2 separate regions of the Homo sapiens genome follow, and region 2 is linked to region 1. The links are contacts of gene promoters, found by promoter capture Hi-C in blood cells and fetal thymus (Javierre and others, 2016). All regions are on one chromosome and are shown on one strand. The core of a region is centred on a gene start or on the middle of the fragment in contact, and the rest is flanking DNA. Distances in the headings are between cores, read along the strand shown.

Region 1 (5,502 bases), core at 2,020-4,519:
TGGGAGATGCATGTGGCTGCTGATATCAACACATATTTACACACAGTAAGACGAAGTGTGTACAGAGCCCAGTCCTGGCCCCGGGGCAGTCAACCTGGATACAGGCATTGATTGATGAACATGCTGCTTCCCATAGGAACACCTCTGTGTCTTTTCTGTGGCAGGAGGCATTTGTTGAATTCAGATTGGCTAATTATTTTTTAGGGCAACCAAAGGCGGTTATCTAGTATATAATATGGCTATACATTCTGATTGCACTTAGAACCTAGTTTTCTAAGATTCTGGGTTAGTGTTTTCACCCTATCCCTGGTTTAAATCTGGCTGGGGTAATCTGTGGAATGGTCTATATCCTTGAACTCAAGGACAGTTCTGGGAGCAGCCACATAGGTGTCACCTAATACGGAATCTCAGGTCTCAACAACACAGACCTGTTGAAGGAGAATGCATTTCAGCAAGATCTCCAGATGACTTATAGGCATATCAGTGTTTGAAAGGCACTGATCAAACACGTCTTAACCATTATGCACTGACCTTGGCCTTGGAACTGAAGAAAGACTTGGGGAATAACTGGATGGGGAGGTGGGAGGAGAATAAACGTGGACTCTCCGTTTCACTGAGTGCTGTATACCCAATCTCACTCTCTACCCAGGGTGATCGCTCCCAGATGGGCACAGATTGGATCCACTTGGCATCCCCCTTGGAGTGCATCAGGCAGAGAATCTCAGCCAACCAGTTTGTTCCTGGAAAAAGAAGGAAAAAAATATATAAAATGTACCATCTCAGCCGGACATGGTGGCTCACGCCTGTAATCCCAGCACTTTGGGAGGCTGAGGCAAGTGATCATGAGGTCAGGGGTTCCAGAATAGCCTGGCCAAGATGGTGAAACCCCGTCTCTACTAAAAATACAAAAATTAGCCAGGTATGGTGGCGGGCGCCTAAAATCCCAGCTACTTGGGAGGCTGAGGCAGAGAATTGCTTGAACCTGGGAGGCGGAGGTTGCGGTGAGCCGAGATCGTGCCATGGCACTCCAGCCTGGGCAACAGAGTGAGACTCAGTCTCAAAAAAAAAAACAAAAACAAAAACAAAAAAAAGTACCATCTCAACCTTAATTTTTTTATTATTTATTTATTTATTTATTTATTTTGAGACAGAGTCTTGCTCTGTCACCCAGGCTGGAGTGCAATGGCACGATCTCAGTTCACTGCAAGCTGTGCATCCCGGGTTCATGCCATTCTCCTGCCTCAGCCTCCCAAGTAGCTGGGACTACAGGCGCCCACCACCACGTCTGGCTAATTTTTTTTTTAATATATTTTTAGTAGAGATGGGGTTTCACCATGTTAGCCAGGATGGTCTCGATCTCCTGACCTCATGATCTGCCTGCCTCGGCCTCCCCAAGTGCTGGGATTACAGGCGTGAGCCACTGCGCCTGGCTTTTTTTTTTTTTTTTTTTAGCGATGAGGTCTCCCTCTGTAGCCCAGGCTAGAGTGCAGTGGTGCAATTATAGCCCACTGCAGCCTTGAACTCGGGCTCAAGTGATCCTTGTACTTCGGCCTCCTGCTTCAGCCTCGCAAGTATCTGAGACCTCAGGCATGTGCCATCGCGCTGGGCTAATTTTTTGAAAAAATTTTATTGTAGAGATCAGGCCTTGCTATGTTGCCCAGGCTGGTCTTGAACGCTTGACCTCAAGCAATCTGCCTATCTTGCCCTCCCAAAGCACTGGGACTGTAGGCGTGAGCCACTGCAGCCAGCTCTCAACCACTTTTTTTTTTTTTTTTTTTTTTTTTTGAGACAGAGTCTTGCTCTGTCACCCAGGCTGGAGTGCAGTGGCATGATCTTGGCTCACTGCCACCTCCATCTCCTGGGTTCAAGTGATTCTCTTGGTCAGCCTCCCGAGTAGCTGGAACTACAGACGTGCGCCACAGCGCCTGGCTAATTTTTTATTTTTAGTAGAGACGGGGTTTTGCCATGTTGGCCAGGCTGGTGTCGAACTCCTGACCTCAGGCAATCCACCTGCCTTGACCTCCCAAAGTGCTGGGATTACAGGTATGAGCCACCATGCCCAGCCTGTCAACCACTTTTAAGCCTACGGTTTCGTAGTGTTAAGTGTTAAGTATATTCCCAGTGCTGCTCAACCAATCTCCAGAGGATTTTTGTGTTGCAAAACCGAAACTCTATGCAGAGCCAGCACCGACTCCCCATTTACCCTTCTCTTCAGCCCCTGGCAGCCGCCAGTGTACTTTCTGTTTCTATGGACTTGATGACTCCAGGTACCTTATGTAAGTGGAATCACACACTATTTGTATTTTTGTGACTGGCTTATTTCATTTAGCATAATGTCCTTGATGTTTATCTCTGTTGTATCATGCATCAGAATTTTCTTCCTTCTCAAGGATGAATAACATTCCATTATAGCTATATACCACATTTTGTTTATTCACTCACCTGTCAGTGGATATCTGGGTTGCTTCCATCTTTTGGCTATTTGCTGAAATCCCTCTTATTATGTTCCCATTGCTCTTGGCCTCTCAGGGCCATGCCACTTCCAATGTCTTCAGCCTCAATCCTCACCGCATCCGCAGTGCTCTTACCGCCCTCCACCCACAGCCCCACTCCCAGAGACATATGATCCTCATCTTTCAGCCCCTTGAGATTGCCTGGCTCTTTTGTGGTTCCTGGCCATTGCCCTGATGATTCTCCTATCTGAAAATAGCCCTCCCCCCAAGTAATTTCATACTCATTCTTTGCATTTCCATTTAAATGCTATTTCTTCTTTCAGGACATCATTGGTCATCCTCAGCCATCCTCCCTCCCACTGCCACCAAACAAACACCTGAATTTGCCTTGGGATTCACTCCTGTGGATTCTCCTAATACCTTAGATTACCCCTCTGAACACTCATCCTACTGTGTAATTTCCTGACTAAATCCTTTTCTCTGATTGTCAATGGTATTAGGCATTCCTCTCTTCCCCTTAAAGCATTGTACACTGTCTGACATAAAGGAAGAACTCCAATCATGCACTGAATGGACAGGAACACAACCACAGCCTTTCTCAGTTCACGATTCTGCCTCCTTACCTGATTTGGGGTAAGTCAATATTATTACATCTTCATCCCTTATCACGAACTCATCACGTACTTTTCTTAAGGTTTCGGATCTGAAACCCATAGTAGGGAAAGCTATGCCTTCAAACCATAAGAAATCGTCCGACATGATGATGACCTCTTCCTGCGTGGTGTGAGGGTTTCAACTGTAGCCACCGCTGGAGGCTGTGGCAGCTACAGGCAGATCAGCTTTTACAGCAAGGATAAAACGATCTTTAACCTTGTCCCAGCATGTCACATGTTTGTTGTAAAGTTTACTTGCTGATAAAGAGAGGTATAATGTGACCCATACTCAAAAGATTGAAGATGTTGAGCAATCATGAACTTATCTAGAGACCATTTTAGGGGTCATCTGAGCTTGCGTTCCTGAGAGTGAACTGCAAGATCGAATAACAAACACGAGGACAAATATTTTTTTTGATAATATGGGTGAATTTATTTCTTAAGGTTTGAGTGCAAACTTAAAAACAAGAACAAAGCTTTTCATCAAGCATAAACACAAAATCTAAATAATCCTGCAATCGTGCATTTTAACAGAAAGTACAAATATGAATACATTATAATTTGTAACTGCATTTAAAAATTAAAATATGTCTCTCCAAATCCAAAAGACCACACAGTCTTTATCTGTTCTCATCTTGTTACCTTAGAAACATTTGTCATATGCTCTCAGGAAAATATAGGCAAGAATTACTAATCAGTTATTCACGATCAAAGAAACATTATTCTCCCTGAGACTTTTTGAATCATTTATCTGTATTTCTGAAGTATCACACAATTATACCTCCACTCTAGAGAAAAAAAGAGTAAGTACAAATATTAGCAGTGTATATATTGTAGTAAATTTTTAAAGTACAACTTTAGTTGATGGCTGACGTGTATGTAATAATTGTGAACAATTTAAACGGTATAAAAATGTGAGATGAAAATCTTTAGACTCAAATACTTGAAAAGTCACTATGAATATGGAAAGATTTGTTTGCATAAACATGTATGTTTTTAGATGGAAAATCAAGAGGTAGTGGCATCTCCCTGTTTCCTTAATAATATTTGGATTTTCACAAAGAATTGGCAGCACCCAACCTTAAGTGTTAATTATGTGTTTGTTTGTTTTTTTTTTTTTTTTGAGATGGAGTCTCACTCTGTCGTCCAGGCTGGAGTGTAGTGGCGCGATCTCGGCTTGCTGCAAGCTCTGCCTACTGGGTTCATGCCATTCTCCTGCCTCAGCCTCCAGAGTAGCTGGGACTACAGGTGCCCGCCACCACGCCCAGCTAATTTTTTGTATTTTTAGTAGAGACGGGGTTTCACCGTGTTAGCCAGGATGGTTTCAATCTCCTGACCTTGTGATCCGCCACGCCCAGCCTAATTATGTGTTTCTAAAGGACCTATACAACAGATCAGTTGGCAGTGTTCTAGCTTTAGGGAGATGGGGGTGGATTGGGGGTGCAAATATCTGAGATAAGATAATGCATGCACTCACACATTTAAAATCACCATTCTAAATGGGAAAAAAAAATCACATATTGGGAAAGTCCAAGAAACTCATTCTTAAGGGATAAACAGCAGGGCAGGAGCAAAAGCTGAATAGAAGTCTACTTGATAATAATGTTTTTTCACTCTTCAAAGGCAAGTTGGGAAGAATGAGAATACTCACATACACATAACTTCAGGGAAAACGTGCCTAGAATTTTACCTTGCAAAACACTGAACAGAAATCTTTACAAAAACCTTCATTCTTGGTCTGGGCACGGTGTGGTGGCTCACGCCTGTAATCCCAGCACTTTGGGAGGCCGAGGCGGGCGGATCACGAGGTCAGGAGATCGAGACCATCCTGGCTAACACGGTGAAACCCCGTCTCTACTAAAAATACAAAAAATTAGCCGGGCGTGGTGGCGGGTGCCTGTAGTCCCAGCTACTCAGGAGGCTGAGGCAGGAGAATGGCATGAACCCGGGAGGCGGAGCTTGCAGTGAGCCGAGATCTCGCCACTGCACTCCAGCCTGGGCGACAGAGCGAGACTCCGTCTCAAAAAAAAAAAAAAAAAAAAGGAAAGAAAAAAAGCCTTCATTCTTGTTTATAATACTTGATTTTTCCCTTATTACCACCCTGTACATCACATTTAAGTATTTTCTTTATAAATATTTTAGAGCAAAAAGAATTTATTTTGTTGCAATGGTGGCCCACATCTGTACAAAACAACCTAAACAAGATATATATGTATATATATATGCATATATATATGCGCATATATATATGCATATATATAAAATGATTAAGAAAAAGTGCAAAGAATAACAGTATTAAGAATTTTTGCATTTTATAGTAACTGTGGTTCAAGCGTGAATATCTATCAGCGATATATAATCCCAGGTTTTACTTTTTAATTTTATTTATTTATTTA
Region 2 (5,571 bases), core at 478-2,977, 1.4 Mb before region 1:
CCAGGCTGGAGTGCAATGGCCCAGTCTCGGCTCACTGCAACCTCCACCTCTGGGTTCAAGTGATTCTCCTTCCTCAGCCTCCCAAGTAGCTGGGATTATAGGCATGCACCACCACACCCGGCTAATTTTGTATTTTTAGTAGAAACAGGGTTTCTCCATGTTGGTCAGGCTGGTCTCGAACTCCCGACCTCAGGTGATCCGCTCGCCTCAGCCTCCGAAAGTGCTGGGATTATAGGCGTTGCCACCGCACCCGGCCAAAATCTCATAATGTTCTAAGAAAGTTTACGAATTTGTGTTGGGCCACCTTCAGAGCCATCCTGGGCCGCATGCAGCCCACGGGCCGCAAGTTGGAGAAGCTTGATCTAGGGAAAGGGTGTGGGGAAAGACGAAGAGATGGCCCAAGCCCATGCCTCTGGCAGTCCCAGCGTGTCAGTGTCAGACAGCAGACAAAGAATCCAGGAGACAGCAGAAGAGGGCTGGGGGGAAGCCCAAGAGTGAGTGTTTGGAAAACTAAAGAGAGTAACAGCAATCGGTTGGAATTGGAGTGTATCCATTTATAGAGGACTATGCTTAGTGGTACACAAACATAAATTGTGGCGCATCCGTGTAGTAGAATACTATGCATGGTTACACGAAATAAGGAGGAAGTTCTCTATGTGCTGAGATGGGAAGATTTCCTTTGTATGAAATGATTTGCTGACATCCTCACAAAACACTGTTTAATAAAGCAAGGTGTATAACACTGTAAAAAAAAATAAAGAGAGAGAGAAAAATTCCTTTTTTTTTTTTCCTTTTCGAGACAGGGTCTCACTCTGTCACCCAGGCTGGAGTGCAGTGGTGCAATCATGGCTCACTGCAGCCTCCCAGGCTCCAGCGATCCTCCTGCCTCAGCCTCCCAAGTAGCTGGAATTACAGGCACCCGCCACCACGCCCGGTTAATTTTTGTATTTTTAGTAGAGACAGGTTTTCACCATATTAGCCAGGCTGGATCTCGAACTCCTGGCCTCAAGTGATCCACCCGCCTCGGCCTCCCAAAGTGCTGGGATTACAGGCGTCAGCCACCGTGCCTGGCCACAGGACTGGCTTTCAATATGAAGCACAGAAACGTCCTCCAAGGGGCAGGAGAGAAGGACAAGGGCACACACGTCCAGCAAATGCAGATTTCCTGGTAAGAAGCTGAAGAAACAAATTTTATTATTTAACAAAAATGTAGATGATGCTTACTATATGCCTGACCCTGTTCCAAGCACTTTGCAAATACTTCATTTGCATGAAAAGCCTTTGAGGTAGCTACTGTTATATTCTGTCATCCTCATCTTACAAATGAGGAAGCAGGCACAGAGGGCAATCACCTTCCCCAAAGTCACACAGCTGGTAAGAAGCAGGGCTGCTTAAAGGTGGGCAATCGGGCAGCAGAATTCACACTCTTAAACAGTACTCCATAATACTTCTCTGTGCTTGACCTCCTGGGGCTCAAGCAATCCTCCTGGGCTCAAGCGATCCTCCTGCCCCAGCCTCCCAAGCAGCTGGGATCACAGGCTTGCACTACCATGCCTGGCTAATTTTTTTGTATTTTTAGTAGAGATGGGCTTTCACCATGTTGTCCAGGCTGGTCTCAAACTCCTGGCCTCCAGAGATCCTCCAGCCTCAGCCTCCCGAAGTGCTGGGATTACAGGCGTAAGCCACAGTACCCAGTCCTCTGTGCTCTGTTCTTGATAAATGACATTTTATTGTACAGATGTGTTTTATTTTTAGATGGAAGATCAGTGGGTGAAGATTCAGGCTGGTTCAGGGCACTGGGAGTCTTGAGGAGAGAGGAGACTCAGAAGCTGCCGTCTTGGAGAAAAAAACTTACTAGAAAAACAGGAGGACTCCATGTTTGAGGTTTGTGGTGCTGGGTTTTCAGTGAAATCCCAGAGGCTGGCTGAGATTTTTCCTGCTTCGTGGGAGGAAATGGCTTTCGCATGGGAGGGGGAAAGATAAGTATGGCCCAGTTCACAGTCTGTCTGCAAATCCCCAGGCACTCTGGTTCCCCGGTTCTCTCGGGGTCCTGGAATCTGGTGCTGGGTGGCCTGTCTGCCCTTCCAACTGGCCACCTGGTCCCTGTGAGCTGAACTCCAGGAACCCAGCATGGCCAGGCCAGGCTGCAGGGGAGGGAAGGGCCTGGAAGCCTGTTCCCAGGCCATGGCCAAAGGAAACGAGTTACCTTCCAGGAACTGGAGCCCAGAGGCAGGGGTGAGGAGCTGGGGAGCTGGGGGCCTGGAGGGAAAGCAGTGCCCAGAACTTGCAGGGCCTCTGAAGCTGGGCTGGAGTTTGGCTCTGGGCACGAGAGCCAACAGGGCCTGTCATGGGCACAGTCTCCACCCCATGATTTGAGGGCTGAATAATGGTCCTCAAATACAACCACCTCCTAAGTCCTGGAACCTGTAAATAGGTGACTTCATGTAGCAAAAGGGACTTGGAAGATGATCCTGAATTATCTGGGTGGGACCAATGTCATTACAAAGGTCTTTATAAAGAAGGCCAAGCTCAGTGGCTCACACCTATAATGCCAACATTTTGGGAGGCCAAGGCAGGAGGATGGCTTGAGCTCAGGAGTTCAAGACCAGCCTGGGCAACATAGTGAAACCCCATCTCTACTAAAAATACAAAAATTAGCCAGGTGTGGTGGCAAGTGCCTACAGTACCAGCTACTCAGGAGGCTGAGGCAGGAGAATCGCCTGAACCCGGGAGGCGGAGATTGCAGTATGCCAAGATTGCCCTGGGCGACAGAGCAAGACTCTGTCTAAATAAATAAATAAATAAATAAATAAATAAATAAAATTTAAAAAGAAAAGAGGGAGACGAGAGGGTCAGAATCGGAAAAGGGAACGTGCCAATGGAAGCAGGGTTTGGAGTCATGCAAGAAACGGCCCCAAGCCAAGGAATGCAGGTGGCCCCTGTACTCTGGGAAAGGTGAGGACACGTACTCTTCCCTGGAGCCTCCAAAGGAACACGGCCCTGCTCATCCATTCAGACTTGTAACCTTCCGAACTGGCAGCCAATAAATTTTGTGTTGCCTTAAGTTAATCCATTTATGGTAATTTGTTACAGTGACAGAAGCTTGAGACAGCAAGTTTCTTTTTTTCTTTTTTTTTTTTTTTTGAGACAGAGTCTTGCTCTGTCACCAGGCTGGAGTGCAGTGGGGTGATGTCGGCTCACTGGAACCTCTGCCTCCTGGGTTCAAGCGATTCTCCTGCCTCAGCCTCCCAAGTAGCTGGGACTACAGGCACCCACCACCATGCCCGGCTAATTTTTTATATTTTAGTAGAGATGGGGTTTCACCATGTTGGTCAGGCTGGTCTCAAACTCCTGATCTCAGGTGATCCGCCCACCTCAGCCTCTCAAAGTGCTGGGATTACAGGCACGAGCCACCAAGCCCGGCCCGAGACAGCAAGTTTCTTTATCTCCTGGGGACTCTGTTTCTGAAACTGTGAATCAGTGATAACTGAATCCCTGCAGCGTTGTACTGAGGCTATTGGACACAGATACATCAAGTGTTTAGGATGGTTGCTGGCACTCAGCAAGTGCTTGACAATATTAGCTATCATTATCTTCAAAGTGTTACCAAAACACCAGGGGTTTGGTCTAGGTCATGCTGCTCACAGCACAGAAAGCCAATAAGGGAAGAAGGCTTTAATTGGGCGCTGCCGCTGAGGAGATGGTTCAATCTCAAATCCATCTCCTTGACCAGCTAAAATCAGGGGTTTAAATAACAGGGAAGAAATGTAACAATGTGTAAGAAAACAGGAACTAGGGAGGGGCAAGGAAGCAGTCATGATGAATGAGAGGTCCATTATCTCATTGTCTGGATGTGATGATCTGGTAAGTTTCAGTTATTTGATACTTTTTGTTTTTGAGATGCCTGAAAGTGAAAGGAACTCAGATAAAACAAATTAAGTCTCAAGCTTAAAGACCAGAAGGGTCAGTTTCCTATGTTTATCCAAAAAACTATCTATGGGACTATTGGGTCAGTTTCAAAAGTGTAGGCAAAGTATTCATTTGTCCAACAAATATTTATCGAGCATTTATTATGTTCCAGGCACTATTACTGCTGGAGATTCAGCATGAACCAGACAGATAAACACTTCCTGCCTCGGCCCTGAGCCCTCAGGAAACTTTCAATCTAGGGAGGGAGAAAGACAATAAACAAAAGAAATGGGAGAATGGCGTGAACCCGGCAGACGGAATTTGCAGTGAGCCGAGATCGCGCCACTGCACTCCAGCCTGGGCAACAGAGCGAGACTCTGTCTGAAAAAAAAAAAAGAAAAGAAAAAGAAATGTGTCCTTTTAGTTTTTTGTGGTTATTTTTTGCCATACAAAAGGTATTAATTCTTATGAAGTCATATGTAGCTATATTTTCTTTTCTGTTCTAGTTTTGGTACTCGTCTTACAAGACCTTCTTCTCTCCAAGAAAAGCAAATGTGAAGCACATCAAGGTCTTTTTTTTTTTTTTTTTTGAGACTGAGTCTCACTCTGTCGCCCAGGCTGATGTACAGTGGCACAATCTCGGCTCACTGCAACCTCTGCCTCCCAGTTCAAGCGATTCTCCTGCCTCAGTCTCCCAAGTAGCTGAGATTACAGGCACCTGCCACCACACCCAACTAATTTTTTGTATTTTTAGTAGAGATGGGGTTTCACCATGTTGACCAGGCTGGTCTTGAACTCCTGACCTTAAGTGATCCACCTGCCTTGGCCTCCCAAAGTGCTGGGATTATAGGCATTAGCCACCGTGCCTGGCCCAAAGTCTTAATAGTTATAATTGCTTTTGTTTAAACTTATATATATGTGTATACATACACTCATACATATATACACACATATACACAAACATATATACATTCATATATCACACATGCACAAATACATACAACATACTCATATACATATGTATATATCCACCCATATATACACATAAATGCACTTATATATGCACATATACATATGTACATAAATATACATAGACACAGAAAAGCAAACATATACATAAATTTACACACATATATACACAAACATACACTTAGACACAGAATTATAGACATACACACAAATTCATGCCCACACCCATAGACACACATATACATATATACACGCATGTATATGTCCGTATAGAGAGCTCTATGCTGGAATATACAAAAACATTTTTTCTCTTTTGAAGGAAAACGAGAACCTGCTATGGCTTTTGTGGGAGGTTGGGGAGAAGCAGACGGGGCACTCTCCGTTTCTAATTTTGTACAGCTGGAATGTCTAACACTCTGCATATCTTATTTTAAAATGTCTATGTGGGCTGTTTTAGCAACAGGATGATAGGTCAGTTCTTGTTTTCATCTTTATATGGCTCTTTATTCAATAAAAACAAAACCACTGCCACCTAAAAATAAAATGCTTTAGGAGCCAAGACCACGTTATAGGTTACAGTCACAGTCATTCTTTTTTTTCTTTATTTTTCTTTTTCTCTGGGTCTGGTATAAAGCTTTCATTTAACCTGATTTACTCTTGCCAATCTGTCGCTGAATAAGCCATTCATAGCCC

What was found. The method cuts DNA at HindIII sites, captures the fragments that hold promoters and counts their contacts. A CHiCAGO score of 5 or more calls a contact.
Region 2: a contact is called between a fragment that was not itself captured here and the fragment with the promoter of SULT2A1 in region 1, in 1 of 17 cell types (total B cells). The highest score is 5.3, in total B cells.

The regions. Positions count from the first base shown.
Region 1 is chr19:47,883,046-47,888,547 of GRCh38, forward strand. It overlaps SULT2A1 (sulfotransferase family 2A member 1), which reads right to left and starts at 3,270. Exons shown (of 6, transcript NM_003167.4): 1 at 3,077-3,270; 2 at 532-740. The coding sequence starts at 3,212. The HindIII fragment of the contact is 7,780 bases long and covers 1-3,580 here.
Region 2 is chr19:46,445,875-46,451,445 of GRCh38, forward strand. No RefSeq gene overlaps it. Among named protein-coding and RNA genes, the nearest start is that of PNMA8C, 20 kb to the left of the region's middle. The HindIII fragment of the contact is 2,746 bases long and covers 355-3,100 here.